Regions from separate parts of the Homo sapiens genome. Here regions 2, 3, 4, 5 and 6 are each linked to region 1. Evidence: promoter capture Hi-C in 16 types of primary human blood cells and fetal thymus (Javierre and others, 2016). All regions are on one chromosome and are shown on one strand. The core of a region is centred on a gene start or on the middle of the fragment in contact, and the rest is flanking DNA. Distances in the headings are between cores, read along the strand shown.

What was found. The method cuts DNA at HindIII sites, captures the fragments that hold promoters and counts their contacts. A CHiCAGO score of 5 or more calls a contact.
Region 2: a contact is called between a fragment that was not itself captured here and the fragment with the promoter of MGAT4A in region 1, in 3 of 17 cell types (activated CD4 T cells, total CD4 T cells and naive CD4 T cells). The highest score is 7.1, in activated CD4 T cells.
Region 3: a contact is called between a fragment that was not itself captured here and the fragment with the promoter of MGAT4A in region 1, in 3 of 17 cell types (naive CD4 T cells, activated CD4 T cells and total CD4 T cells). The highest score is 6.5, in naive CD4 T cells.
Region 4: a contact is called between a fragment that was not itself captured here and the fragment with the promoter of MGAT4A in region 1, in 3 of 17 cell types (M2 macrophages, M0 macrophages and M1 macrophages). The highest score is 9.0, in M2 macrophages.
Region 5: a contact is called between a fragment that was not itself captured here and the fragment with the promoter of MGAT4A in region 1, in 5 of 17 cell types (non-activated CD4 T cells, activated CD4 T cells, total CD8 T cells and 2 more). The highest score is 9.1, in non-activated CD4 T cells.
Region 6: a contact is called between a fragment that was not itself captured here and the fragment with the promoter of MGAT4A in region 1, in 4 of 17 cell types (non-activated CD4 T cells, total CD8 T cells, activated CD4 T cells and 1 more). The highest score is 9.0, in non-activated CD4 T cells.

The regions. Positions count from the first base shown.
Region 1 is chr2:98,728,550-98,733,046 of GRCh38, reverse strand. It overlaps MGAT4A (alpha-1,3-mannosyl-glycoprotein 4-beta-N-acetylglucosaminyltransferase A), which reads left to right and starts at 1,915. Exons shown (of 16, transcript NM_012214.3): 1 at 1,915-1,999. It overlaps LOC107985922 (a long non-coding RNA gene), which reads right to left and starts at 1,766. Exons shown (of 2, transcript XR_007087150.1): 1 at 1,352-1,766. RefSeq lists silencers at 967-1,261, 1,368-1,557, 1,578-1,907. The HindIII fragment of the contact is 4,047 bases long and covers 1-3,971 here.
Region 2 is chr2:99,170,915-99,175,411 of GRCh38, reverse strand. MITD1 (microtubule interacting and trafficking domain containing 1) reads left to right here. Exons shown (of 7, transcript NM_138798.3): 2 at 1,396-1,497; 3 at 3,766-3,902; 4 at 3,983-4,069. Among named protein-coding and RNA genes, the nearest start is that of MITD1, 7.9 kb to the left of the region's middle. The HindIII fragment of the contact is 1,183 bases long and covers 1,809-2,991 here.
Region 3 is chr2:99,143,301-99,147,797 of GRCh38, reverse strand. The region is part of intron 1 of TSGA10 (testis specific 10); the gene reads left to right. It overlaps C2orf15 (chromosome 2 open reading frame 15), which reads right to left. Exons shown (of 4, transcript NM_144706.4): 3 at 305-396. Among named protein-coding and RNA genes, the nearest start is that of C2orf15, 3.8 kb to the right of the region's middle. The HindIII fragment of the contact is 2,647 bases long and covers 1,282-3,928 here.
Region 4 is chr2:99,061,353-99,065,849 of GRCh38, reverse strand. TSGA10 (testis specific 10) reads left to right here. Exons shown (of 21, transcript NM_025244.4): 16 at 726-911. Among named protein-coding and RNA genes, the nearest start is that of C2orf15, 78 kb to the left of the region's middle. The HindIII fragment of the contact is 7,108 bases long and covers 1-4,497 here.
Region 5 is chr2:98,448,519-98,453,015 of GRCh38, reverse strand. All of the region lies in intron 1 of INPP4A (inositol polyphosphate-4-phosphatase type I A), which reads right to left. Among named protein-coding and RNA genes, the nearest start is that of INPP4A, 5.9 kb to the right of the region's middle. The HindIII fragment of the contact is 1,565 bases long and covers 1,133-2,697 here.
Region 6 is chr2:98,467,381-98,471,877 of GRCh38, reverse strand. The region is part of intron 1 of INPP4A (inositol polyphosphate-4-phosphatase type I A); the gene reads right to left. Among named protein-coding and RNA genes, the nearest start is that of INPP4A, 25 kb to the right of the region's middle. RefSeq lists a silencer at 2,959-3,088. The HindIII fragment of the contact is 3,455 bases long and covers 794-4,248 here.

The DNA.
Region 1 (4,497 bases), core at 666-3,165:
ATGGCTTTGTCATAGAATACAGGAAACCTGGCTTTCAGGTCCCCAATGTATTCGTCCGTTTTCATGCTGCTGATAAAGACATACCCAAGACTGGGCAACGGACAAAAGAGGTTCAATGGAGTTACAGTTCCACATGGCAGGGGAGGCCTCACAATCATGGTGGAAGGCAAGGAGGAGCAAGTCACTTCTTACATGGATGGTGGCAGGCAAAGAGAGTTTGTGCAGCAAAACTCCCTTTTTTAAAACCATCAGATTTCGTGAGACTTATTCACTATCACGAGAACAGCATGGGAAAGACCCTCCCCCATGATTCAATTACCTCCCACCAGGTTCCTCCCACCACACAGGAATTGTGGGATTTACAATTCAAGATGATATTTGGGTGGGGACACAGCCAAACCGGAAGTAGAGAGAAAACACACTCAAAGTAGAGGGAAGAGCTGTCATTGGATATCATGGCTGTGATCCCCCAAGTTGTGTCCACAGTGCTGGGCAGTGGACAGATCTTTTGGTATGGTTCCCCTAAACTAGTAAGAGACTATGGGAGCAGGGATGTTACGTGTCTCTTCCTGAAGTTTTAAATTAGCCGTCATGGAGAAACCTCAACATGGGAAGGCTGATAACTCCATGCATGTTCTAGCTGATTATTAATTATTCTTATCTTGAGATAAAAATAATGGAATTTATCGGAGGTGGGGAGGGGACCCTGTTCTGATTGATGCCTCTTAAGAGTTTTCGATTATTGAAATTACTGTTTTCTGAAAAGAATCTACTTATTACTTTGGGAGTTTGGCAGGAACAAGGCTGCCTCCTTGATCTTTGGCCCCTCAATTCCCTTACAGGTTACTCGGTAGGATTGCTGTAAGGATTATTGCGGCAATAAAGTTAACACATCCCTTGTTTTTGAACCATTACCAGCTGTGTGACCTTGGGCAAGCCCTTTCACCTCTCAGCTAGTTTCCTCTTATGAAAAATGGGGAATAAATTTAAAACATGAGATATGCAATAAACGATCTAACACCCATGCCTGCTATACGGTTGCCTGCTATACAGTTAAGTATTCAAAAGAGGACGTACCCAGGGGTAGTTACTGTTAGCACAAGTCCTATGGATACTATGAAAAACAGGGACAGACCACCCAGGCTTTCTACAAACGAGTCAGTTTTTTGCCTTTGAAGTTAACCTCTAACCTTGTGAAACGGCGACAGATAAGGACATGGGGTTCAAGAAAACGGGGCATAGTGGAAAATCAGGGGCATTAGCACCCAACGATGTGCGTTGAAACCCTAGTTGTTTTTCTCCTTCCCAGTTGCTGAAATCAGCCCTTCTGGCCGATTCGCGGGGTTCTCACCGGGAAGTTGGGGCTGTCGCGACCGTCCGCGGGGCCTCGGGAGCTCCTGTGGGGCTGGGCCCGGGACCTGTCCCCGGGGAGGCCGCCCAGTTTGGGCGGCCCGGAGCGGGGCGCGCCGCTGGGAAGGGGCCGGGTCGAGGCAGGCAGGCGCCTGGGAGCTGGGGCAGCCCCGGGTGGTCGGGTCGCGCGCCGAGGCGCAGGCCGAGGGCTCGCCCGGGCCTTTGTTGGCCGCCGGAGCGGTCCCTGCACGCGCCGGGAGGATCTCAGCCAGATGTGGCAGCGGGGCGGCGGGGAGCAGGCCGGCGCCCAGAGCTGGGACCCGAGACCGCGGCTCCGCTCCGGACCTCGCCGTGACACCGATGAGCCGGGCCAGCCTCCCGAACGCTCCGCAGGCTGCGTGGCGGCGCCCCTAAGTGACAGTCGCGCGGGCCACTGGTGGGGCGCGGGGCGCGGGGCGCGGGGCCCGCGGGGCCGGCCAATGGCTGGCGGGGTCGGGGCGGCCCGGCGGGGCGGGGCGGGGCGGGCGCTCCAGCGGCGGGGGCGGAGCCGGCGGGGCGGGCGGGGCGGCCCGCAGCGGCGGCGGCAGCGGCGGCGGCGGCTACAGCAGCTCCGCCGGCAGCCGCGGGAGCACGGCGACGCCAGCGGCGGGTGAGGGGCTCGCGGCGGCAGCGGCGGCGCGCGGGGGCGGGAGGGGGCGCGGGGCGGCTGCGCGGAGGGCGCGGGAGTTGGGGGCGGCGCCGGCGGCCGGGCTGGCGGCCCCGGGCTGCGGGAGATCCACCTGCTGGTAAAGGAGCCTACTGCGCCGCGGCCCGGCCGGAGCTCTGTGCGGGGGAGCTGTTGGCGCCTCTGGGCGCGGGGCCGGCTCCGGGAGCGGCTGGGCCTCGGGGGCGGGCGGCGGGGCGCGGGCCGGGCCGTCCTCCCAGCGTCCCTGCCCCGCACCGCGCACCCCTCGGGGTCGCGCGCCCTCTCTGCGGCCGGCTCGGCGCCTGGTGCGTTCCTGGCGCTCCCCGGCGTGGCGGGGCTCGGCGACTTTGGGGGAAAGTGGAGCAAAGTGCTGATCCGGGGGGTGCGGAGGGGGAGGGACAGCTGCCTGTGGGACCCGGGGGCTGCGCGGGAGTCGGCGCTTTCGCGGGGGCCGCGGGGCAGGTGGGCGGGGCCGGACGGTCCGAGGCGCAGGGGCAGGGGCTGCTCCCGAGGGGACCGGCCGTGCAGCCTTCGCAGGGAATTTTCACACAAAGTGAAGGGCTGCGGGGCCCGCGTGAAAGAGCAGCCCCCGTTTCCCCAGGCCTCAGCTCTCTCCGTAATGAGGAAGCTGCAGTAGGACCCTGAGGCTGGGTCTCGGTGACTCCACCAAGTGTGCCAGGTGACATCTCGGAGGCGAGCTTTTCTGAGCTGGCAGTCGAGCCACTTGCACACCCGCCTTTATTCCTCGCAACAGTGTGTTTCTCTGGAGCGGTTTCATTGCCTACATTCCGCATTGGAAAATAGAAGCAGGCACAATGTATGCTTTGAATGCTTTCCACGTATTTTGCTGTTGTGCTTTTGCTGTTGGACAGATTATTTGATAAAAGATAATGACAGTCGTTCGTTGGAACGTAGACTGTAAATTTAGAATAAAAATATGCGTTTTGTGGTTTATGTTTCTTTTTCTGAATGTTTAAAAAACAGTTTGATGAACAGGTTATCTTGACATAGATTTCTTTAACCCACACGTGTAAACCCGAAAACGCACTGGGCGATGACATTACGTAAGCTGTATTAAAGAAAACTACTGACCCGTTTATAAATGGCAAATAAATGAATTTTGCCACAATTGTGGTGTGTAAAGTTATATAGGCTTACGTCATGGATTTTATTGATTCCAGATATCAGGGATTATTGTGCCTTTCATTCTTAAGTCACCTCTACCCTGTCTGTGGGATGCTGATTAAGGAAGATGCCAAACGTTCGGCAAAGTGTTCTCAGCCGTGGACTATATTGAGTATTTCAGAGAACACTTTAAAATAAGTAAAGGTTTTGTATCCAATAATAAAATGAAGACTGAAGCCCTTAAAGGATTGCTAACAAAACAGTCTGATGTCTAGAGTTGAAAGTTCCATTCACCTTTGGGAGGGTGGAGAAATGACTAGCAATTTTAGCCACTACCTTTTTTTGTTGTTGTTAAAGATTCAAACGTGTTAGATTATAGTCTCCGAGAATATTAAGGGGCTAGATTAAAATTTTTGCAAATGTGGACACTAATAAAAATGTGGGTCACCTGTGTCTTACAAGCCAGCCTGTGAATTATGTCTCATAATTGAAGAGTGAGTAGATCCTTGGTTTTACTCTTGTCCGAAGAGTTTCTTCACTTGTGCCGTGCAGTTAAACTTATTAGCTGGGAAACCCTAATTAAAAATGTATGACTACATTCTTACTGAGTAAAACACGCATATTTTTCTTGCAAAATTTCAGGGCTTATTTGCTAGTAGAATTTATTGTAAGTATCTTCAGAGTTTCATAACTTACTGGATCCAGTATTTTTTTTTTTTCATATATTAGGGGTAGTATATCAATAGTTTACTTTGGTTTTAGAGTTCATTTACTTGTCTCTATGCATTTCTACGGAATGTTTTTACAAGCTTTATTTGTATTTAGTAAAACTTTTAAAATATCCTTAACTATATGATGTGCGCTCTACCTCCCCGTTATTATGAATTGAGTGCTTACTCTAATAACCTGTATGCTTTTTAGATCTTTTACTAGAACAAAATTCTTTCTCAAGTAAAATAGGGCTAAGTAGATAGCAGCTGAAAGTTATAAGTATTTTAATATAATGCCACACCGGGATTAATGTTCCAAGTTATATAATTCATAGAATTATCACCCGTGTTTTTATAATCAGAATTCATTATTGGGTGCTTATTGATTTAAGACAATTAGAGCAGTCTTGCTATGAAGTTTTTTTTTTTTTTCAAACTGAGTCTCTGTCACCCAGGCTGGAGTGCAGTGGTGTGATCTCGGCTCACTGCAACCTCTGCCTCCCAGGTTCAAGTAATTCTCCTGCCTCAGCCTCCCGAGTAAGCTGGGATTACAGGCACCTGCCACCACTCCTGGCTAATTTTTGTATTTTTAATAGAGACAGGGTTTCGTCATGTTGGCCAGGCTGG
Region 2 (4,497 bases), core at 1,151-3,650, 440 kb before region 1:
CAAAATGAGAGACATTCTGCAAAAATAACTGACCAATATTATTCCTAAATGTCAAGGACATAGAAGGCAGAGAAAGATTAAGGAACTAACACAGATTGGAGGAGACTAAGGACACATAACTAAATGCAATATGGGATCCTGGACCAGAAAGCAAACTTTCATTAGTGGGAAAATTGGTGAAATTCAAATAAGGTTTGTAGATAAGTTCATAGTATTGTTTCAGTGTTAATTTCCTAGCTCTGATACTTGTAGTATGGTTTGTGATATGTTAACATTAAGAGAATCTAGGTGAAGGAGGTTATCTGTACCATTTTTGCAACTTTTCTGTAAATATAAAAAATTAACTCAAAATGTTTTTTAAAATGAGAGATTAAAATGAAATTATTGGCTGGGCAGTGTGGCTCACGCCTGTAATCCCAGCACTTTGGGAGGCCGAGGTGGGCGGATCACCTGAGATCAGGAGTCGGAGACCAGCCTAACCAATATGGTGAAACGCCGTCTCTACTAAAAATACAAAAATGGGCCGGGCACGGTGGCTCACGCCTGTAATCCCAGCACTTTGGGAGGCCGAGGCAGGAGGATCACTTGAGGTCAGGAGTTCGAGACCAGCCTGACCAACATGGTGAAACCCAGTCTCTACTAAAAATACAAAAACTAGCCAGGCATAGTGGTGGGCGCCTGTAGTCCCAGCTACTCAGGAGTCTAAGACAGGAGAATTGCTTGAACCCGGGAGGTGGAGGTTGCAGAGAGCCGAGATCATGCCACTGCACTCCAGCCTGGGCGACAGAGCGAGATTCCGTCTCAAAACAAACAAACAAAAAATGAGATTATTTATGGAAAATATAAGCGATGTTGAAAGGAAAAAAGGGAAGGAACAAGAAGTGATTTGTTGACTGATTTGGGAGGAGGGGTGGTTGGGTAAAACTTTATGATCATGTATATTCAAAAATAACATTTTTGTGGTAGCTGGAAAAATGTGCATTAACTATAATGGGGAGGTCTGGAAGAGTAGCTGGTTTTGTGGAAGATAAATATTTTTTGCTACTTTTAATTATGCAAAAATTTCAAACTTGTGGGTAGTTAGGATAAAATAGTGCTCAGACATGAGTTTGACATGTAATGAGCCACCTTTCATCCCACCAGATTTGATGTCCCAGAGATGAGACATAGTGTCAAGAGCTCCCACTCCTAAACCAAGCTGCATCACGCTTCGTGTAAATATGAAGGTCTTGTATGTTCAAGCCAAATTTGAGTTTATTGTGTGTGTTTGAGGACTGAGGCAAGCCATACTAGAGGATAGGAAATTTGTAGAAAACTTGAGAAACTGAAAATAATGCCCAAATTAAATAGAAAAACTATTTTGATACTTGATAATATATATTTTTAAATTTGTAGGTACCAAAGATAATACTAAGAGATGTAATCTCAGAGAAAAAATTTCCAAATACATGGACAGAGCGGAAAACATAAAGAAGTACTTGGACCAAGAAAAAGAAGGTAAAGAGGTTGTTTTAGAAAATGCATCCATAAACAACTGTGACTGTCCATTCACCCAATGTTTCTGGCTCCTGCCCTTTGGAGCTCTGTGTGGTCTGGACCAGTTGTCCCTGGGAGCTTACAGGATTTAATCTGTATTTCCACTCCCATACAGGAGTTGTTCTTAATTTTTTGTTTGTTTGTTTGTTTTGGCTTTTGTTTTTAGTTGGGGGTGGGAATATCAGACACCCCTTTGAACATCTCATGAAAGCTATACTTACTGGAGAATGTTCCATGCCATTTTTAAGGGGTTCACAAATCCCTATGAAGCTTATGTGTGGACCCTATGTTAAGAAATACTACAGGGAATACTGAATGTAAATTGTGTATTTTATTTATATTTCCCTTTATGAAATGACCAAAATCATGAAAGAAGCTAAAGAAACTCCTGGGATTTCTCTCAGATTTTGTTGTGAATCAAAACACCTCAGGAGTTAAGCATTCCTAATGATTAGAGGTCAGGTAGGTATTGTTCCCTATTATTAGTTCCCTACTCCTAAGCATCCAGTTTACAAATGTCTGTAAATGGCCATTTCCACCCTTACCTGAGTGCATACTTGCTGCTTTCTATAGCCAAAGGTACTGCTGCCCTCAAAAGCCAGTGCCCCCAGGCCCCAGCTTTTCTTCCTCTCTATACTTTCTACACCCCTTTCCCCATCTCTTCCTACTATCCTGTATCAGTACATACCCTGGGGACCCCCCACTGAGCTCCTTTGTTCAGTGGGAATAAAGTTATGTTTCCTTAGCCCCGATTTGAAATTTAGAATGAAATTTTACTCCAAAACATTGATGAAATATAGTACCTCCAGCATTGTGGTTTTGAGTACATGGAATTAAATTAACCTCTATACGGCTATCTTGGCTTAAAAAATAAGGCATAGTTGCCAATGTTATCTATGTGGAAATATTTGGAACAGAATCCAAACTACTGATTTTTAAACAAAGTGTAAAGTATAATTTAGGGGCTACCATTAGGGTTTTTTTTTTTTTTTTTAGACGGAGTCTCGCTGTGTCGCCCAGGCTGGAGTGCAGTGGCGCGATCTCTGCTTACTGCAACCTCTGCCTGCTGGGTTCAAGCAATTCTTCTGTCCCAGCCTCCCGAGTAGCTGGGACTACAGGCACCCGCCGCCAAGCCTGGCTCATTTTTGTATTTTTAGTAGAGTTGAGGTTTTGCCATATTGGTCAGGCTGGTCTCTAACTCCTGACCTCAGGTGATCCTCCCGCCTCAGCCTCCCAAAGTGCTGGGATTACAAGTGTGAGCCACCATGCCCAGCCAGGGGTCATATTTTTTTAAAACCTTAAAGGTTTCTGATAACTTTTTCAATATTCATTTTGAATGAACAAAAGCAATAGATCTATCCTCTTGATCCTGTGACATCCCAGTCTTTAGCTTATTAAGAAGTACTATAAATTTCTGTTTAAAACTGTACACGTGCCAAGAAAGACTTTGAAGCTTCATATTATACTGCATTAATTTTTTTTTTTTTTTTTAAGGCAGAGTCTTGCTCTGTTGCCCAGGCTGGAGTGCGGTGGCATGATCTCAGCTCACTGCAACATCCACCTGGGTTCAAGTGATTCTCCTGCCTCAGCCCCCCAGGTAGTTGGGACTACAGGCACCTGACATCATGCCTGGCTACTTTTTATATTTTTAGTAGAGCTGGGGTTTCACCATGTTGGCCAGGCTGGTCTCGAACTCCTGACCTCAAATGATCTACCTACCTTGGCCTCCCAAAATGCTGGGATTACAGGCGTGAGCTACCGCGCTCTGCCCTGCATTCATGTTTAATACTCACTTTAGTTATTAGATTGCAAGACATAAAAAGACAAGTCTGAAGAGGAGGACCAGATAGCCACTGAGTTTCAGTATGTGGTGCTACCCATGGCGACAGGGAGTTATTGGATACCTTTATATATACACTACTCCCTTCAACAAACTGCCTGGTCTATAGGATCTTGCTCAAGGACCTGTTCCAGGAAACCTCTAGATTTTCCCCCTTGCCTAGCCTCTGTGAAGGCAGAAATCACTAATGGAGTGGTTTGCCTTAAATACCTTTGTACGTGTAACATCCTGCAATGTATATGATATTTAGTAGGCATTCAATAAGTATTTGCTGAATAAGTTAAAAAAATTAATATGTATCTGATGCTGATTAATCACTCTATATAAAATATAAAATGTGTAAAAAAAAAATGGTCACTGGTTTTACTGTTGAAGCCTGTGTTTTATAGATGGAAAATATCACAAGCAAATTAAAATAGAAGAGAATGCAACAGGTTTCAGTTATGAGTCACTTTTTCGCGAATACCTTAATGAGACAGTTACAGAAGTTTGGATAGAAGATCCTTATATTAGACATACTCATCAGGTATGTGAACATACTAAAATATAATGAAATATCATATTCAATGTACTAAATTAGTAATAATCCATTCTAATGTCTTTTAGCTGTATAACTTTCTTCGATTTTGTGAGATGCTTATTAAGAGACCATGTAAAGTAAAAACTATTCACCTTCTCACCTCTCTGGATGAAGTAGGTACCTGAAAGCACTTACTCTTTCTTATTAACTTTATTCAGTTACAAGATGTAGTCCAGTCAAGGAGAACACAGATGCAGTGCTTCAGCTAGATTTGTTTCCTTGGGAATTAACTTATTATCTAACAGTATGCATAACATGTCATAAAAAAAGTTATTGATTTTAGGATGCTGATTTTGTATTTGGCCACTTTGCTAAATGCACTTATTCAAATAGTTTGTTAGTTTAGTCTCTTGGATATTCTAGGAGGCAATCACACTGTCTGCACTATGAACAATTTTGTTTCTTTACCAATTATTATATCTGGGGGATGGTAGCATGATATGATATGGTAGTGGGCATCTCTATCTTGGTTTTGACTTAAAATAAGAATGCTTCTAAATAATTATGATTTCTACGATTGATTTCAAAAGCAGTCAGCTCC
Region 3 (4,497 bases), core at 1,356-3,855, 410 kb before region 1:
CATAGATACAGAAAGACAGTAAAATATGCAAAATGCTAACAACTGTTAAATCTAGGAGGTAAAGCTTAAAAAGTTGTTCTACATATTATTATTATTACATTTCTGTAGGTTTAAAACTTTTTCAAAATACAAAATTGAAAAAACGTTTTAAAAAACACAAAACTCTAAAACATGGCATTTGAAATCAACAAACGTAAAAGAATGGTAACATATAATTATCAATTTGCACATTAAACTTCAATCTAATAAAAGGACTGAGGAGGAACCAAGTATAATAGGGTAGACTTGGCCCTGTGAGTCTTACCTTAACTTCCCCAGAGTTGAGGACATGAAGGGTGAACAAGTCTATTGGGGGCCTCTTTGGACTGGCATTTAGGTTGCCATTCAAGAAGAAATCTGGAATATATATGTAAGAATAAAGGTACATAAAGAGATAAATCAATCTGGAGAAAAAGAACAAAGTGGCTTTCTTTACTAGATATTAAGATAGGCTACGCGGCTGGGCACAATGGCTCACGCCTGTAATTCCAGCACTTTGGGAGGCCAAGGTGGAAAGATCTCTTGAGTCCAGCAGTTTGAGACCAGCCTGGGCAACATAGGGAGACCTCATCCCTATCAGAAAAAAATTAAAAAAAACAAAAAGATATGCCACAAAGTGAAAGTAATAAAAATAACCTTGTACAGGTACAGGAACAAATAATCAGTAGAATATGACAGAGCTGTAACTTGGACTTAGGTATTTCAGGAACTTCACATATATCACAGGTGGCACTATAAGACAAAGGAGATAGAACAGACTAAGTTTAGTATGATGGTATCGTGAACATTGGCTAACTATGTGGACATAAGCAGGATCTTAAACACAGAAGTAGGCTGGGCGCGGTGGCTCACGCCTGTAATCCTAGCCCTTTGGGAGGCTGAGGTGGGCGGATCACGAGGTCAGGAGTTCGAGACCAGCCTGATCAACATGGTGAAACTCTGTCTCTACTAAAAATACAAAAATTAGCCAGGTGTGGTGGCGGGTGCCTGTAATTCCAGCTACTCAGGAGGCTGAGGCAGGAGAATCGCTTGAACCCAGGGGGTGGAGGTTGCAGTGAGCTGAGATCATACCATTGCACTCCAGCCTGGGCGACAGAGCAAGACTCCGTCTCAAAAAGAAAAAAAAGTGGAGTGCAAATGCATTAAAGACCTAAATGTGAATGGCAGAACTGTAAATGCAATAGAAGAAAATATCTGTTACCTTGGAGTGAAGAAAGATTTCTTGAACAAGACTAAAAAGCTTAAACAATAAGGGAGGAAAACAGTGAGTTTGATTACTCATAATTGAGAATTTCTATTCAATGAAAAAAATATAAACAAAAAGATAGATAAGAGACTGGAAGGAGATATTTTCTGTGTCCAAAGCTGATGGTATTTAATGGCTGGAATAAAAAGAGAACACCTAGAAATTAGCAAGGAAAAAGAAAACCCAATAGAAAAATGGGCAAAGGATATAAAAACATAATTCACAGATTGAGGAATCCCAAACAGATAATTAACTAGGAATCAGAGAAATTCAAGTTGCAAAGAAATTGCAACCTCCGCCTTTCTGGGTTCACATGATTCTCCTGCTGAGGCCTCCCGAGTAGCTGGGATTACAGGCACCTGCCACCATGCCCGGCTAATTTTTGTATTTTTAGTAGAGACGATGTTTCGCCATGTTGGCCAGGCTGGTCTCGAATTCCTGACCTCAAGTGATCTGCCCTCCTTGGCCTCCTAAAGTGCTTGGATTACAGCATGAGCCACCGTACCTGGCCACATCTGGCTAATTTTTAAAATTCATTTTTTTTGTAGAGACAGGGTGTCACTGTGTTGCCCAGGCTGGTCTCGAATGCCTGTACTCAAGCAATCCTCCCACTTCCCAAAGTGCTGGGATTACTGGCGTAAGCCACCATGCCTGGACTGGTTTGAACCTTTTATAACAAAACCCAGATCACAGCAGTCCTCTGCTCAACACACTCTAGTTGCTTCCCATATCAGAGAAAAAAATTATCTACATATCTGGTCCCCAGCTGTGGTAGGCAGAATAATAGTCTTCAAAGATGTCTTTGTCCTAATCCCCAGAAGCTGGGACTATGTTATGTTATGTGGCAAGGGGGAATTAAGGTTGCTAATCAGCTGACTCTGAGGGTGGGAAAATTCTCCTGGATTAATTGGGTGGTACTAATGTAATCACAAGGGTCTTTTTTTTTTTTCTTTTTGGGACAGAGTCTCACTCTGTTGCCCAGGTTGGAGTGCAGTGGTGTGATCTAGGGTGACTGCAGCCTCCGCCTCCTGGGTTCAAGTGATTCTCGTGCCTCAGCTCCCAAGTAGCTGGGATTACAGGTGCCTGCCACCACGATCAGTTAATTTTTGTATTTTTGGGGAGAGACAGGGTTTTGCCATGTTGAACAGGCTGGTCTTGAACTCCTGACCTCAAGTGATCCACCTGCCTTGGCCTCCCAAAATGCTGGGATTATAGGTGTGAGTCACCGCACCTGCCACACAAGAGTCTTTAGAAGTGAAAGAGGGAGGTAGAATGTGTTAGCCATGATGCAATGTGAGGAGGACTTGACTGGCCATTTTTGGCGTTGAATATAGACTGGGATCACAAGCCAAGGAACATGGGCTGCCAGTAGAAGCTGGAAAGGCAAGAAAGGGGATTTTCCCCTAGAGCCTCCAGAAGGAATGTAGACCTGCCTGACATCTTGATTTTAGCCCAGTGAGACCCAATTTGAACTTGTAAATCTCCAGAACCGTGTGATAATAAATTTGTGTTGCTTAAAGACACCAAGTGTGTGGTAAATTGTTGCACAGCCGTAGCAAACAACTCTACTAGCAAGCACTCTCTCCTGTCTCTTTGCCTTATTCGACCCCAGACCTATCACCCCATTGCTGTTCCTCAAGCATATTCTATGCCAAACCTTCTCCTGCTTCAGGACCTTTGCACTTACAGTTCCCCCAGCCTGAAGCAATTTTTGCATTGCAAACCACATCCCTTGAGGATAGTTAGTGACATGGGGCCTGGAACTGTGAAGAATGGCAGACTTCTGCTGCTAGTCATGATGGAGTAACAGAGACCAGACTTATCCTCATGCTTTCAGCATCTTTTTTTTTTTTTTTTTTTTTTGAGACAGAGTTTTGTTCTTGTCCCCCAGGCTGGAGGGCGATGGCACGATCTCGGCTTACCGCAACCTCTGCCTCCCGGGTTCAAGCAAGTCTCCTGCCTCAGCCTCCCGAGTAGCTGGATTACAGGCATGAGCCACCGTGCCCCGCCTGCTTTCAGCATCAAAACACAAAACACATGAAGCAATGGCTTTTAGATATTGGACAACAGGCAGTTCGGGAGAGTGATCCTTGAGAAACAGGAAATAAAGTGAGCCCTATGAATGGACATTGCCTGGAACTTTCAGGCCTCGGCATAAGGAGGAAACTCTCTGATTTAAAAAACGGAACACAGGCCGGGCGCGGTGGCTCATGCCTGTAATCCCAGCACTTTGGGAGGCCGAGGCGGGCAGGTCATGAGGTCAGGAGATCGAGATCATCCTGGCTAACACAGTGAAACCCCGTCTCTACTAAAAATACAAAAAAATTAGCCGGGCGTGGTGGTGGGCGCCTGTAGTCCCAGCTGCTCGGGAGGCTGAGGCAGGAGAATGGCGTGAAGCCGCGAGGCAGAGCTTCCAGTGAGCGGAGATCGCGCCACTGCACTCCAGCCTGGGAGACAAAGCGAGACTCCATCTCAAAAAAACAAACAAAAAAAAGGAACACAGCATCAGTGAGCTGTGGAACAAGATCAAGTGGCTTAACACATATGGAATTGGAGTCCCAGATTTTTTTTTGAGGGGATCAGGAAGAGGACAGTGAAAACAAAACAAAAAATAGTAATAACAGAGGTTTTTGTAGTGAAGCTTTTGAAATGATGGAAAAATTAAGGGACTAGAAAACCAAGACCTTAGAAGGTGTCTGTCACGAGAGAGCAAGCACAGGGTACTATATAAGGCTTAGCCTGGGCCAGGCACAGTGGCTCATGCATATAATCCCAGCACTTGGGATGCTGAGGTGGGTGGATCACTTGAGTCCAGGAGTTCAAGACCAGCCTGGGCAACATGGTGAAACCGCATCTCTACAAAAACATACAAAAATTAGCTGGGCATGGTGGCACATACCTGTGGTCCCAGCTACTCAAGGGGCTAAGGCAGGAGAACTGCTTCAACCTGAAAGGTGGAGGGTGCAGTGAGCTGAGATCATGCCAACGCACTCCAGCCTGGGTACAGGGCAACAGAGTGAGACTCTGTCTTAAAAAAAAGGAAAAAAAAAAAAAGTCTGGGCGCAGTGGCTCACACCTGTAATCCCAGCACTTTGGGAGGCTGAGGCGGGTGGATCATGAGGTCAGGAGATCAAGACCATCCTGGCTAACACAGTGAAACCCTGTCTCTACTAAAAATACAAAAAACAAAAAACAAACAAAAAAAAAGCTGG
Region 4 (4,497 bases), core at 1,115-3,614, 330 kb before region 1:
TCATGATAGAATTTTGAAAGTTCAAAAAATCTGGTTCTTATTGTATGCTCAATTTATACATGAATGCATATTTACAACTAGTGTTTATTGGCATAGGTTTGATAGTTTACTTCTGAGCAATTTCAGGAAAGTTACTAGACTGGCAGGGAAAGTTACTAGACTAGCAGGTAAAAGATAATCATAGAACAGTTCATGATCAAGATAATTAAGGCTGGGGCTATGAATAAAAGGCAGACACCAGACAGGAAATTATCAGAAGCTGACATTTAAAATATGCAAGTACTCAGAAGCTCTGTAGCCAGCACAGCCCGGTAAATTGGTCAAGAACAAGGGAATACACCAGTACGAAAGGTCAGAGGCTCAGAATCCAGACCAGCAAGTAGTCAGTAAGCAGACATATGGGAAAAGCAGGCTGTGGAGGACTTCAAACAAAAGGAAATATAAGAACAAATTCATTCAGGTCTTGAAGAAAAGAGTAATTTACCTAAATTTACTATTTACTAGTGTTCACTGAGTGTTACTCAGGAGCCAGGGCAGATGCTGATTGCAGTCTTTGTTAATTACAGGATGACCTGTTTTCTAAACTAAGAGTATAGATATATTTCCTCAGGGTTCTATTATAAACGCTTCTCATGGCAAGTGAATTCCCAATGACTTGGATAATAATGTTTAATTTTTATCATATGTTCAGCATTTTAAAGTAATAGCTAAAGTTTGCTTTTCAGGAATCTGAGAACCGGCAAATGATGGAACAACTTCGAAAAGCCAATGAAGATGCTGAAAACTGGGAAAATAAAGCCCGTCAATCAGAGGCAGATAACAATACCCTCAAACTGGAACTTATCACTGCTGAGGCAGAGGGTAACAGATTAAAAGAAAAAGTAGATTCCCTCAACAGAGAGGTTGAGCAAGTAAGTTTGGAAAAATATGCTTATAATACATCCTGCATCATATTTAAAAGAGTTTTGTTTGGCCTTCCATAAATTAAATGTATGAACAAACACGTAAATTATTTAAATGTACTGTGAATTGTAGCATGCTAACCATTCTCCTTATACTTTGATTCTTCTACAATCTCTTATCTACCCTACATCCAGAACAATCATTAGCATTTGTTAAAATTAGAAACTATTTCAAACATACCATAAAAGTGCAAAAGTAACAAAACAGATAAACATATCCCCAGCTCCCACATGTAAGGATACTAACATTTTGCCATGTTTGCTTCAAATGTCTCCTTGTTTAAAGAAATAAAACATTACAGATAAAACTTCTCTCATCCTTTTCCCTCCTACCTCCCTAGTTGCTGGTGTGCATAACTTTCCTGTCAGTGTGTCTAACTCCTTTGCATATGTTTATACTTTTTCTACAATCTTACACCCACAAATAATGTATAATGTTATTTGGTATGTTTTGGTTTTTATTTAAGTGAAAACAAACATAGTTGGAGATATTCATTTGCAACTTGCCCTCTTTGCTCAATATTATAATTTTGACACATCTATTTTGATATATATATAGTGTACTGCTTTACTCAAACAGTTGCATATATTCATTGTATAAATATTCCCTTTTTAAAATTCATTCCCATATTGAAGGAAAGTTAATTTTTTTTCACTTTTTTCTGTGATAAAACACTGCAACAAACCTTTTACATTTCTCCTTGACTACATGTTTCCCTATATTTATGCCTGGAAGTGAATTTTAAAAAGCTATATGCCTGGAGTAGATCCAAGATATGTGCAATTTCAGCTCTTCTAAGTTTTTGTCAAATTGCTCTCTAAAGTGTCATTCTGCCATAAGAAATCCTGAGTTATTTTCTCAAATGTGAATCAATACTTGATATTGTCAGACAATTTTTTCCATACTTTTTGTCTTGTGCTTCCTTGATTGCAAGTGAAATTGAGGACCTTTTCATGTTTCTTTGCCATTTAGGATTCTTCCTCTATGAACATTTTCTTGAATTTCTCTTGAATGAAATTTTTGTAAACTTTGGCCATTTTTCTATTGCATAGCTTATCTTTTTCATATATATATATTTTTTTGAGATGGAGTCTCGCTCTGTCGCCAGGCTGGAGTGCAGTGGCGTGATCTTGGCTCACTGCAACCTCCGCTTTCCAGATTCAAGTGATTCTCCTGCCTCAACCTCCCAAGTAGCTGGGACTACAGGTGCGCACCACCCTGGCCAACTAGTTTTTTTTTTGTATTTAGTAGAGATGGGGTTTCACCATGTTGGCCAGGCTGTTCTCGATCTCTTGACCTCATGATCCACCCACCTTGCCCTCCCAAAGTGCTGGGATCACAGGCCTGAGCCACCACACCCTGCCTTCATATTGATTTTTAACGGAATTCTCTATGTATTCTTGATAATAATCCTCTTAAAGATATTACAATTATATTGTCCTTGTCTGTGGCTTGTCTTTTCACCTTCCTTGCAGTATAAACAGACATGTTCAGTTCTGATATACTCAGAATTATTATCAATATTTTCCTATATAGTTTATACTTTTATGTCTTCTTTAAGAAATCCTATACAATCCCAAGGCCAGAGAGATATTTTCCTATATTTTCATTTAAAAGTTCTTCTAAATGTTTGAAAGTATGTGAAATTTTGCCATTTACATTTAGGACTTTAACCTGCTTGAGATTGATTTTGTGCAGTTCGAAGTAGACATATAATTTTTATTTTTGTGAATAGATATCCGTTGTCCTTTCTTCTCTGAAATATAAGTCAAGTCTACTTTGTCATAAAAATAAGTTCCCATACATTCTGCTCCATTGGTCAATTTATCCCCTTGTCAATAACACACTCTTGTAGCTATTATAATTTTATGTTGAGTCTTGATATCTGGAAGAATTAATGTTCCCTCAAATTATCTGGACTGTACTTGGTCCTTATTAACCTGTCTCAGATGAATTTTAGAATAAATGTATCAGATTTCATGATTTTATTTCTTTTCTATGCATTGAAGACTGGAAATTTCTATTTTTTTGGGTGCAGCCACCTGCAGCCCACAAGTTTTGAGATAATCCTTTCATTGCCATTCAGTTTTTAATATCATCTCGTTTCATTATGATTTATTTTTAATTACTAAAGTTTGTTTGTCTGTTTGTTTGAGACAGAGTCTCACTCTGTTCCTAGGCTGGAGTGCAGTGGTACAATCATAGCTCACCGCAGCCTCCAATTCCTGGGCACAGGTGATCCATCTGTCTCAGCCTCCAAGTGGCTAACACTACAAGTGTGAGTCACCACACCCAGCTAATTTTTAATATTTTTGTAGCAATGGAGTCTTACTATATTGCCCAAGCTGGTCTTGATCTCCTGGCCTCAAGTGATCCTCCCACCTCAACCTCCCAAAGTGCTAGGATTAGAGGCATGAGCCACCACACTTGACCTGAAGTTTTAAAAAACTTTCCAATGTGCAGGGGACTTGAGGTTATTAGTCTATTTTTACTTTGTTGTGTCTAATATCTTATTGTCTAATGTTTCTAATATTGTGATCAGATAAAATGGCTTATGATAATTAATTCTTTGTTATCTGCTAAGAATTGCTTAGTGGCAGATTATGTAATCAATATTTGATAATATTCTACATGACCTTGAAAAGCATCTGTGCTCACTTCTTGGTGGACACATATATGTATGTTATATATATTTACAGATTAGGCTTGTTAATAGTGTCAGTCAAGTCTTATAAATCCTTACTATATTTGTATTCTTGATCTCTCAAATACTGAAAGACATGTTAAAATCTTCCTCTGTAACTGTGGATTTGTTTATTTCCCTCTGAATGATTTTCTCACAGTTCTGGAGACTGGAAATCTAAGATCACAGTGCCGGAAGGTTTGGTTTCTTCTGGGGCTTCTCTCCTTGGTCTGCAAATGTCTGCCTTCTTGCTACATTCTCACATGGCCTTTCTTCTGTGCATGCACATCCTTGGTGTCTCTCCCTATTCTTATAAGGACACCAGTCATGTTGGATTAGGATCCTATCCTTATAACCCCATTTAACCTTAATTACCTCTTTAAAGGTCCTATCTCCAAATATAGTCACACTAGGGGGTTAGGGTTCAACGTATGAATTTGGAGGGGACACAGTTTTGTCCATAACAGGTTGTTTCTAGTTTTTGGCCGTGAGGAATATAATTTCTGTGAACATTGTGTTCAAGTCTTTGCGTTCATGTAAGTTTTCATTTTTCTTGGATAAATAACTAGGAGTGGAATTGCTGGATTATATGGTAAGTATGCTTAACTTTGTAAAAACCTGACAAATTGAATAAATAATATCTAGTATTTGATAGTACAACAGGGTGACTATAGTCAACAGTAATTTATTGTACATTTAAAAATAACTAAAAGAGTCTAATTGTATTATTTGTAACACAAAGGATAAATGCTGGAGGAGATGGAAACAAAAAACAAAGTGGTTATATCAGTTTACACTCCCGCTTGCACTGTGTGATAGTTGCTCTAAATCTTCTCCCACACTTGGTATTG
Region 5 (4,497 bases), core at 666-3,165, 280 kb after region 1:
GAAAGTAGTCACTTGGGCTGTCTCCAGGCCAATTCCCTAAATATTTCTCAAGCACCTACTAACTGCACTGCTCTTTTTTCCTAGCTGAGCAAGGAGTAGCAGCGTAGGCAACCCCTACACAAATGAACACACTTCAGGAATGGCTTCAGAAGGTGAGTCATAACAGCTCTTTGGGACTCTTCAGCACCAGCCAGGTAGACTCCATCCCTGCTAGGCCAGAGAGGGACCTGGAGCTGGAGTGTTACTGAGGTTGCTTCCTTTAGCACCGAGCTGTACAGGGAGAGTACAGGCCATGCTTGGAGGAGCTGGAGAAGCTTGAGGCAAGGGGGCTGAGAAACTTATATGGGTGGACAAGCTGGCGAATGGGGGGCAGGGGAAGGACTCCGGAGAGCAAAGCGGCCCCCAGGGCCGTAAACACTGGCTAGTTCACACTGTGGGCTGGCCACCCACCATCCTCTCTTCCTTCTTGCTATTCTAGGACCTAACCTCCTCCCCGGTCCTCAGGAAAAGTCAGCCCTGTCTCCAGCTGGGGAGTAGGGGAGTCTTGATTAAACTAAAAGAGCTGTTCTCCAATGTGACCTTGCATCAGAATCACCTGGAAGTCTTCTTAAAGCACAGCTTTCTGGGCCCCATCCCAGAGTTTCTGATTCAGTGGGTGGGGTAGGATCCACTAATCTCCAGTTCTAACAAGTTCTCAGGTAATGCTGATGCTACTGGTCTGAGGACCACACCTGGAGGACCACCAGCCTAAGCCAACCAGCACACAGCACTCTCACAGCCTCATGTTGCTGGTCCAGGGAAGGCCACGTGACCCTTTGCTCCACAGGCCAGAGGGAAGGACTGGTAGACACTGTGGCTGGGGAATCAGCTGCTTTGTCTCCTTCCCTGCTCCTGCTGGACAGGAACAAGGAAGCACGCAGTCCCACTGCCCCCAACGACCATCTCAGAATCATGAGGAGACTAACCCCCTAGGATGAAACCGGCAGTGATGGCTGGACAGAGGAGCAGAATCGAGGTCCTTGATGAAACTGCTGACATGCTGATGGAGACTCCAGTTCTCTGAGATAATAAATGTCACTGTTGGCAACCAAAAGCATCCCAACTGACACACCCCATAATCCAGGGAGAAGCTTGAACTGGGCATCCTTGTTTCCTAGTAGAGCCCTGTTTCCCAGAAACAACCATCTGCCTAAATACTTCCTTCACATTTCCAGAGTTTATACACTTAGGTCATCCTTCTTGAAAATTCAAATTAATTGGTTTGAGAATACACCCTTTAGAGATGCAAGCAACATGAGAGAGGGAAAGAAGGGCGTTCAATATGCTAGGGTGAATTAATAATAGACAGCTTCCATAACAGCAGCTGACACCACCTGCGTGAGGGCTATGGGAGGGGCAGGAAAGGGGCAGGGGGTTTTCAGGAGACATCAGAATACCACCTAGTGAGGTGCAAAAAGAGGGGCGCTGCAGCAACCGGAGGTCAGGAAAACTACCAGGTGTCTCAGGGAAAGCGCTCTAGGAGGATCCCAGGACCGGAGCTGGCAGCGGGTAAACACTTTCCTCTTTCAGAGGTCCCCACCCTTCTTCCTGGACATCAGAGGACATCCCTGTCTTCCTGACCCTATTCCAGAAAATAGACCTCACCAGAGCATGATCCCCCCACTGCCCCCACCATATACATCTGCTTACTGTGCCTAAGTCCCTCGCCAGGTGAGCCTCACTGAACAAGTTTCATATTAAAAGGCCAGCAGTCTCACCCATGCTCCAGGTTAGGGCTGTGGGCAAACACCAGAGGCCAGCTGGGCTGGCTGGCTGGCAGGCCTGGGCCTGACAGCCTGATAGGGCATGACAAAGGTATGTGCAAAGACCAGAAAGAGACATGCACACTGCACCCAGGACCCTGGCTTTCCAATCCCAGACAGGCTATGGTGAAAGGGACAGCTAAGGCCGGGTGCAGTGGCTCATGCCTGTAATCCCAGCACTTTGGGGGGCAGAGGTGGGTGGATCACCTGAGGTGAGGAGTTCAAGAACAGCCTGGCCAACATGGTGAAACCCCGTCTCTACTAAAAATACAAAATTAGCCAGGCATGGTGGTATATGCCTGTAATCTCAGCTACTAGGGAGGGTGAGGCAGGAGTACTGCTTGAACCCAGGGGGCGGAGGTTGCAGTGAGCCGAGGTTGCAGGCTAGAGCCACTGCACTCTAGCCTAGGCGACAGAGTGAGACTCCATCTCAAAAAAAACAGAAAGAGACAACTAAGAGATTAAATCCACAGAGGAAAGGCTGATCTAATTCCAAGCTCTGCCAACCACCCACACTCTGTATACGAATCCATTGTAATGCTTCCGTTCTGCACACTTACTAGGCACCAGGATTAAATGTTAATTCATTTAATCCCCCAACAAGCCTCTGGGGCTGCTACTACCAGCAGCCCAGTTTTGTGGATGAAATAACTGAGGCACAGAAAGATTAAGCCACTTGCCCAAAGTCACACAGCTAGCTGGATGCTCACAGAAAGTGCAGCACCAGAGTCCACAATAGTTCTAGGGATAAAATAAATGGTTTCGAAAGATGTGTATGCTCAGCAAAAAGGACTGTGTAAAAGAAATTCCTGATTTATAAACCAAAATACTGAAAACAGAAATTGTTGATACTGGCAAATCCAGGTAATCAATTTTTATCCCTCATTGAAAAGCTTTCATTTTTCAATCCTGTGAAGGAAGTTAGGTGATATAACTGGGTTTTAGTCCCAGTTGAGCCTCTTTTAACTACCCTCGGGGGATGCTCTAACCACTCCTCAACACCACAGCTCACCTTTGGACAGAACCTCCCACAGGATGTCCAGGGAGGCCTGGCATGCAGGGGGTACTCAGAAAAGCTTGGGTTCCTTGTCATTTAGGACTTTAAAAAAAAATTAAAAAAGCATCACACTTAAAAAAACATTCTAAAGCTGCCAAGAATAAAATTCAAAGTTACCGTAACTTCCACAATCTAGTAAGATAAGGAAAAACAGCCCAACAAGAAAAAATGAACAAAGGATATAAACAGGTAATTCATTAGAAGTTAAAATATACATTAACAAGAAAAGGTATCCAATATTTTTGGTAATTTGGGAAATGCAATTAAAACAATAATGTCTTCCTTGCCCATTAGATTGGCAAAATTAACAAGATTTATTCTCTTAAATGTTGGCCAAGTTAAAGGGAAACAGACAGTTTCAAAGCCTAATGGAAGGAGTACAAATTTAAAAAGCAAGCCACAGAAAATTTTGTGTAATGTGACTACATTTATGTTTACAATGAGAGCATCTATCCCCTGAGAAGGTCTAGAATGGGTGACACCTCAGTAGCAACGAGAATACATAGTGCCTACATCTCGGTTTTTATACCACTCTCCACTAAAGGAAACCAGGACTCTTTGGAGAAATGGCTGATTCCAGGGCTGGGACAAGGAAAGTATAAGCTGAGTCCTTGAAGATTTTGTGCCTGGAAGAAAAGTCCTCAAAGAATGATGAGCACTTGTCAAAAGGACACAAAAGCCAGACTGAAGGGACTCCCACTGGCCAAATCTAGGATAATTTGAGCAACAAAATGCATAATGGGAGTAATGGACTATAATCTATTGAATAAAGCAAGAATTCATGAGTCCAGTGATGTAAATCAAAAAGTAAATAATAGAGAAAGGAAGGTTTCTTCCTTTCAGTACAGTTCCAACTAATAAATATAGAAGGAACCATGAAAATCATCATCTGCCTACTATCATAATAATTGACTCAGGTAAGAAACATCAATGAATTCTGAAACTAGTCAGTTAATTGTATGAGCAGTAACTATATTTACATAGTCTCAAATTCTCTTCCTTTAAGACACAGATTAACTACAAAGGGAAAAATGGTAACTTTTCCATGAGATAGACACCACCTTAATTCAAGTGATCAAAGTTAGCAGGGCCAGAGAATGGGATAATCACAGCATATGCCTCCTGATGGGATACATTAAGAAGGCTGCAGCATTATTCGGGCACAGTGGCTCACGCCTGTAAACTCAGCACTGTGGTCGGCCAACGCAGGAGGATGGCGAGAGTAGGAGTCTGAGACCAGCCTGGGCAACACAGTGTGAGATCCAGCCCCTATAAAATATTTAAAAATTGGCCAGGTGCAATGGCACACACCTATAGTCCAGCTACTCAGGAGGCTAAAGCAGAAGGATCACTGAGTGGAGTAGGTCCAAGCTGTAGTGAGCTGCCATGGCACCACTGCACTCCAACGAAGGGAGACCTTGTCTCTTTAAAAAAAAAAAAAAAAAAAGAGAGAGAGAGAGAGAAAAGAAGACTACAACTGCTTCAACCTTGTGCTACTCCCGCCAGAAGTGCATAACCTGAATCTAATCATGAAACCACAGGAAACCCAATTGAGGGCATTATCTTAAAAAGTCAGTAGTCTTCAAATATGTCTATGTCGTGAAATACAAAAGAAAGACGTGGTAACTTTCAGATTAA
Region 6 (4,497 bases), core at 1,272-3,771, 260 kb after region 1:
CACACCCCTGGCAGTTTGCTTGGCCTGTGGCAGAATTTCAGAGCTACAGTCCCGAACTCCACGGTGCTGTCTGTGACTTCAGCCCCAACAGGGGTTCTCGGGCACTCCTGGCGGCTAGGGGGCTGCGGCAAACTTACTAACAGGGCCAGCAACGTCTTGGGAGGCTTCGACATTTATAGATTATTAAATGAAGAATTTTAAAAGCTTACAGACAGCCAGTCTAAGCACTTCAAATCTACACAGTCTACTTGGCAAACACACACTGAGCGTTGACCTTGGTTCCTGAGCGCTCAACCTGAGGCTGCAGCCTGTGAGAAGCAGCAGCATGGCAGACTTCTGTTCAAAAGCAACCTTACTTCCATCCACCAGAGCTTAAAATTCTCAGATGGTCTAACAGAAATATTCCACATATGATGAGATACCACAGAAACCTTAAGTGTAAGTTAAAAAACCATACTCCCACCTGCTATATATTTTAATTCCACATTCTCTCCTGATAGCTTTGCGAGATTGCCAAGTACAAAGGGAAAAAAGCTTTTCAAAGCTCAATTTTTTAACCCAACAGGGTCATTCATCCTTTTCTCCTGTGTGGAATGACTGTGAAGTAACTCAACAGTGTTTCTCACAGGACTCAGGTCAGGACATCATTCACAACGGCCATCTACAGTGAAGCCACAGACACACACATGCATGCACGCACAGGCACACCACATACACGCACACTCATATACACAGGAGGCACCTCCAACACCCTCAGCTAAAACTATTTTAGTGTGATCTCAAATCAAAAGCTTGGGCCAAACCATTCTGGTTTCTGAAACTACAGGTCAACAAGGTTGCAACAAACATAAAACCACACTGAAACCTATTCAGAGAAGGATGGTGATGGTTTCTTTAGAAATGTCTTCCAGTGGCTGGGTGCGGTGGCTCACGCATGTAATCCCAGTACTTTGGGAGGCCAAGGTGGGTGGATCACCAGGTCAGGAGTTCGAGATCAGCCTGGCTAACATGGTGAAACCCCGTCTCTACTAAAAATACAAAAATTAGCCGGGCGTGGTGGTGCGTGCCTGTAGTCCCAGCTGCTCGGGAGGCTGAGGCAGGAGAACAGCTTAAACCCGGGAGGCGGAGCTTGCAGTGAGCCGAGGTCGCGCCACTGCACTCCAGCCTGGGCAACAGAGCAAGACTCCGTCTCAAAAAACAAAAAAAAAAAGAAAAAAAGAAATGTCTTCCAGCTCCTCCTGCAACATGGCCCTGAACCACGTCTAACCAGAGGTCACACCAAGGAAGTGACCACCCAACTCAGCACCACTTCTTCCTGTGGTCCTGGTATCATGCTTCCCCTTCCTGCTCCTTCAGTGCCTGGCTGAGAAGGCGAAAGGCCCCACCAGGCCTCCTTGCAGGGGCCGAAGCCCAGCGGGCCATGCCTCCCTGCGGAGGGAAGGGACAGACCACTAAGGAGCAAGGACTTAGAGCTCAGAAGCAGCGCCAAGTGAGTCTCATGCCCCTCCTGAGGCAGGAGTCCAATCAGGGGAACCCCAGGTGGGGCTGCACGTGCACTGGGTCAGCCTCCAGGGGCCAGGTCTCCCCACCTGCACCACTGGGTCCAGAGCTCTTTAAAATCCAGGGGCCGCTCCCCAGTCTAGGACCACAGGGAAACACTCTGAGTGCCAAGCACTCCCAATGGCTCACTGGAGCTCTGTGGTCATGAATTTACAGACTCATCAACATGTCATGTGTTCTTCTCCAGCCACAGGCCACTGTGCTGAGAAGTGGCCAGAACCAGGGCTGTGGTTTTACCAAGTGAGATGTGGACGGACAGGGGCAGGAGGTCACGTGCGTTGGCCCTTTCACATCAGTCATGACTATGCCTCTATGACTGTGGAACCCTCCTTGGTGCACAGCAGAACATGCTGCAGCTCTGCACATCACAGTTCACCTTCACAGCCTGAGAGAAGGAGGGGACTGAGGCTCGGCATCTAAGAGACTGGCTCAACACCAATATGTGGGGATTTGAAACAGGTGGGCCTATTTCATCAGGAGGCCAAGTTCTTTTTGTTGTTGTTGTTGTTGTTTGAGACGGAATTTCTTTCTTGCTGCCCAGGCTGGAGTGCAATGGCGTGATCTCAGCTCACCACAACCTCCACCTCCCAGGTTCAAGGGATTCTCCTGCCTCAGCCTCCCAAGTAGCTGGGATTACAGGGATGCGCCCCAACGCCCGGCTAATTTTTTGTATTTTTAGTAGAGACAGGGTTTCTCCATGTTGGTCAGGCTAGCCTCGAACTCCTGACCTCAGGTGATCTGCCTGCCTTGGCCTCTCAAAGTGCTGACATTACAGGCATGAGCCACCGCACCCGGCCCAAGTTCTTTTTTTTTTTTTTGAGACGGAGTCTTGCTCTGTTGCCCAGGCTGGAGTGCAATGGCGCGATCTCGGCTCACTGCAACCTCCGCCTCCCAGGTTCAAGCCATTCCTTGCCTCAGCCTCCCGAGAAGCTGGGATTACAGGCGCATGCCAGCCACCACACCCGACTAATTTTTGTATTTTTAGTAGAGATGGGGTTTCACCATCTTGGCCAGGCTGGTCTTGAACTCCTGACCTCGTGATCTACCCACCTCGGCCTCCCAAAGTGCCGGGATTACAGGCGTGAGCCACCGTGCCCAGCCAGGAGGCTGGGTTCTAAACCTCTAAGGCCCACTGCTCTCCACCCCAGCTGTACCTCCAAATCACCTCATGGGAAAGGTGGCAAATGTCATGCTGGCCCCACCCAGGATTACACTAATTAGCACAGCATGGGTGGAGGGCAGGCTGCCATGTTTTTCAAAAGCCCCTAGGTGATGGTAAGGTACAGCCAGGATGGGGAAAATTGCAACACTATTCCAGTTCCCCTTACCCCCAGCCCCCAAAACCCCTTTTCCCAGCTGTTCACTTTATCCTGCCATGGTTGACTCATCTCTGCTCTGCTCAAAGCCATCTCAGCAACCACTGTGGGAGGCATTCACCACGCCTCCTAGGCTGGAAGTACCAGTGTGGGCGTGATGTAGAGACTTTGGGTCTCTCTGGCTCTCAATCTCAGCCATGAGCTTTGCATCTAGTTACAGCTAAACTCATGGTCCAGCAATGAACCATGAGGAGTTATCGACTTCTATCATCATCCTTCACAAACTGCAGTCTCACTGGTTTCAGGATCAACAGAACCATCAAAAAGAAATGCCACAGTTCTTAGAATGAGAAATGCGACCCACCAGCCACACACTAAACAGCATTTATTTTGGTTTGGATTTCATTCCCCTTCCTTCCTTTATTACCCTCCCCTAGTGGCACCTTATAAATTTTCTGTTTTCAGCCATACATGGTGGCTCATACCTGAAATCCTAGCGCTTTGGGAGGTCAAGGTGAGAGGATCATTTGAGGCCAGGGGTTCAAGACCACCCTGGGTAACAAAGCAAGACCCCCATCCCTACAAAAAAATAAAAAATAAAATTTAGGCATGGTAAGGCATTTCTGTACTCCCAACTACTCAGAACCCTGAGGTGGGAGGATCACTTAAGTCCAGGAGTTCAAGGCTGCAATGAGCTATGATTACATGGCTGTACTCCAGACTAGACAACAGAGCAAGACCCTGTCTCAATCAATCAATCAATCAATAAAATTGTTTTCTTTACTGAGACATTAAAATTGGTATATCTAAGGATCTCACTTTCTTACTGTAAAACCTCAAAGTTTTACTATTAGTCCACTAAGATTTACTCAGGGTTATTACAAATTCAATTAGTTCATGGTCTCACTGAGTTGGAAAGTATGCTAAGCACTATCATTCATAAATAATTGTAAAACTTAGTTGTGGAACTCGACAAAGATGAGGCTGAACTTACGGCCTGTTCAACCAACAGGCTGTACTCTAAAAGCCCATTTATAAGTTATCTGGAACCCAGAGAACATTTCATTTCATGTAAAATTACCACTAAGTTGGTACTTAAGTTCCCAAGAAATAAATAACTATTAGACAGTTAATAACTAATAGATAACTATTAAATAGAGAACTAGATAATAATTAGATAATAGATAATTATCTATAACTAATAGATAACTATTCAACTCATTTGTCCTTTTCTAATTTAAAATCAGAAAAACGTTATTATGGTGCAAGAAAATCAAGTGTGTGTTGTGTGTGCATATACAGACAAGAAAATCAAATGCAAGTGTATGTGTGGGATGTATATGCAAAAACTCTAACTTAAGGAAAAGAAGCTTCACATCAAGAACACAGAAGTTAAATCCATGGAGGCTGAGAAGATAATTTCCACTCAGTTCCAAGGGCAAAGGACACTGATGATGCTAGGTTCACTGGACCTGTTGTCCCCACATGTGGACGGTGTCGCTAACATTGCTGACAGCTTCACAGTCTTAACAGCAACATAATAGGGGAAAGGAGAAAGCGTTTAAACAGATGTAGAGACCAAGTTAACAGTGTGATGAATCATCAGCAGATGAGGGGGACG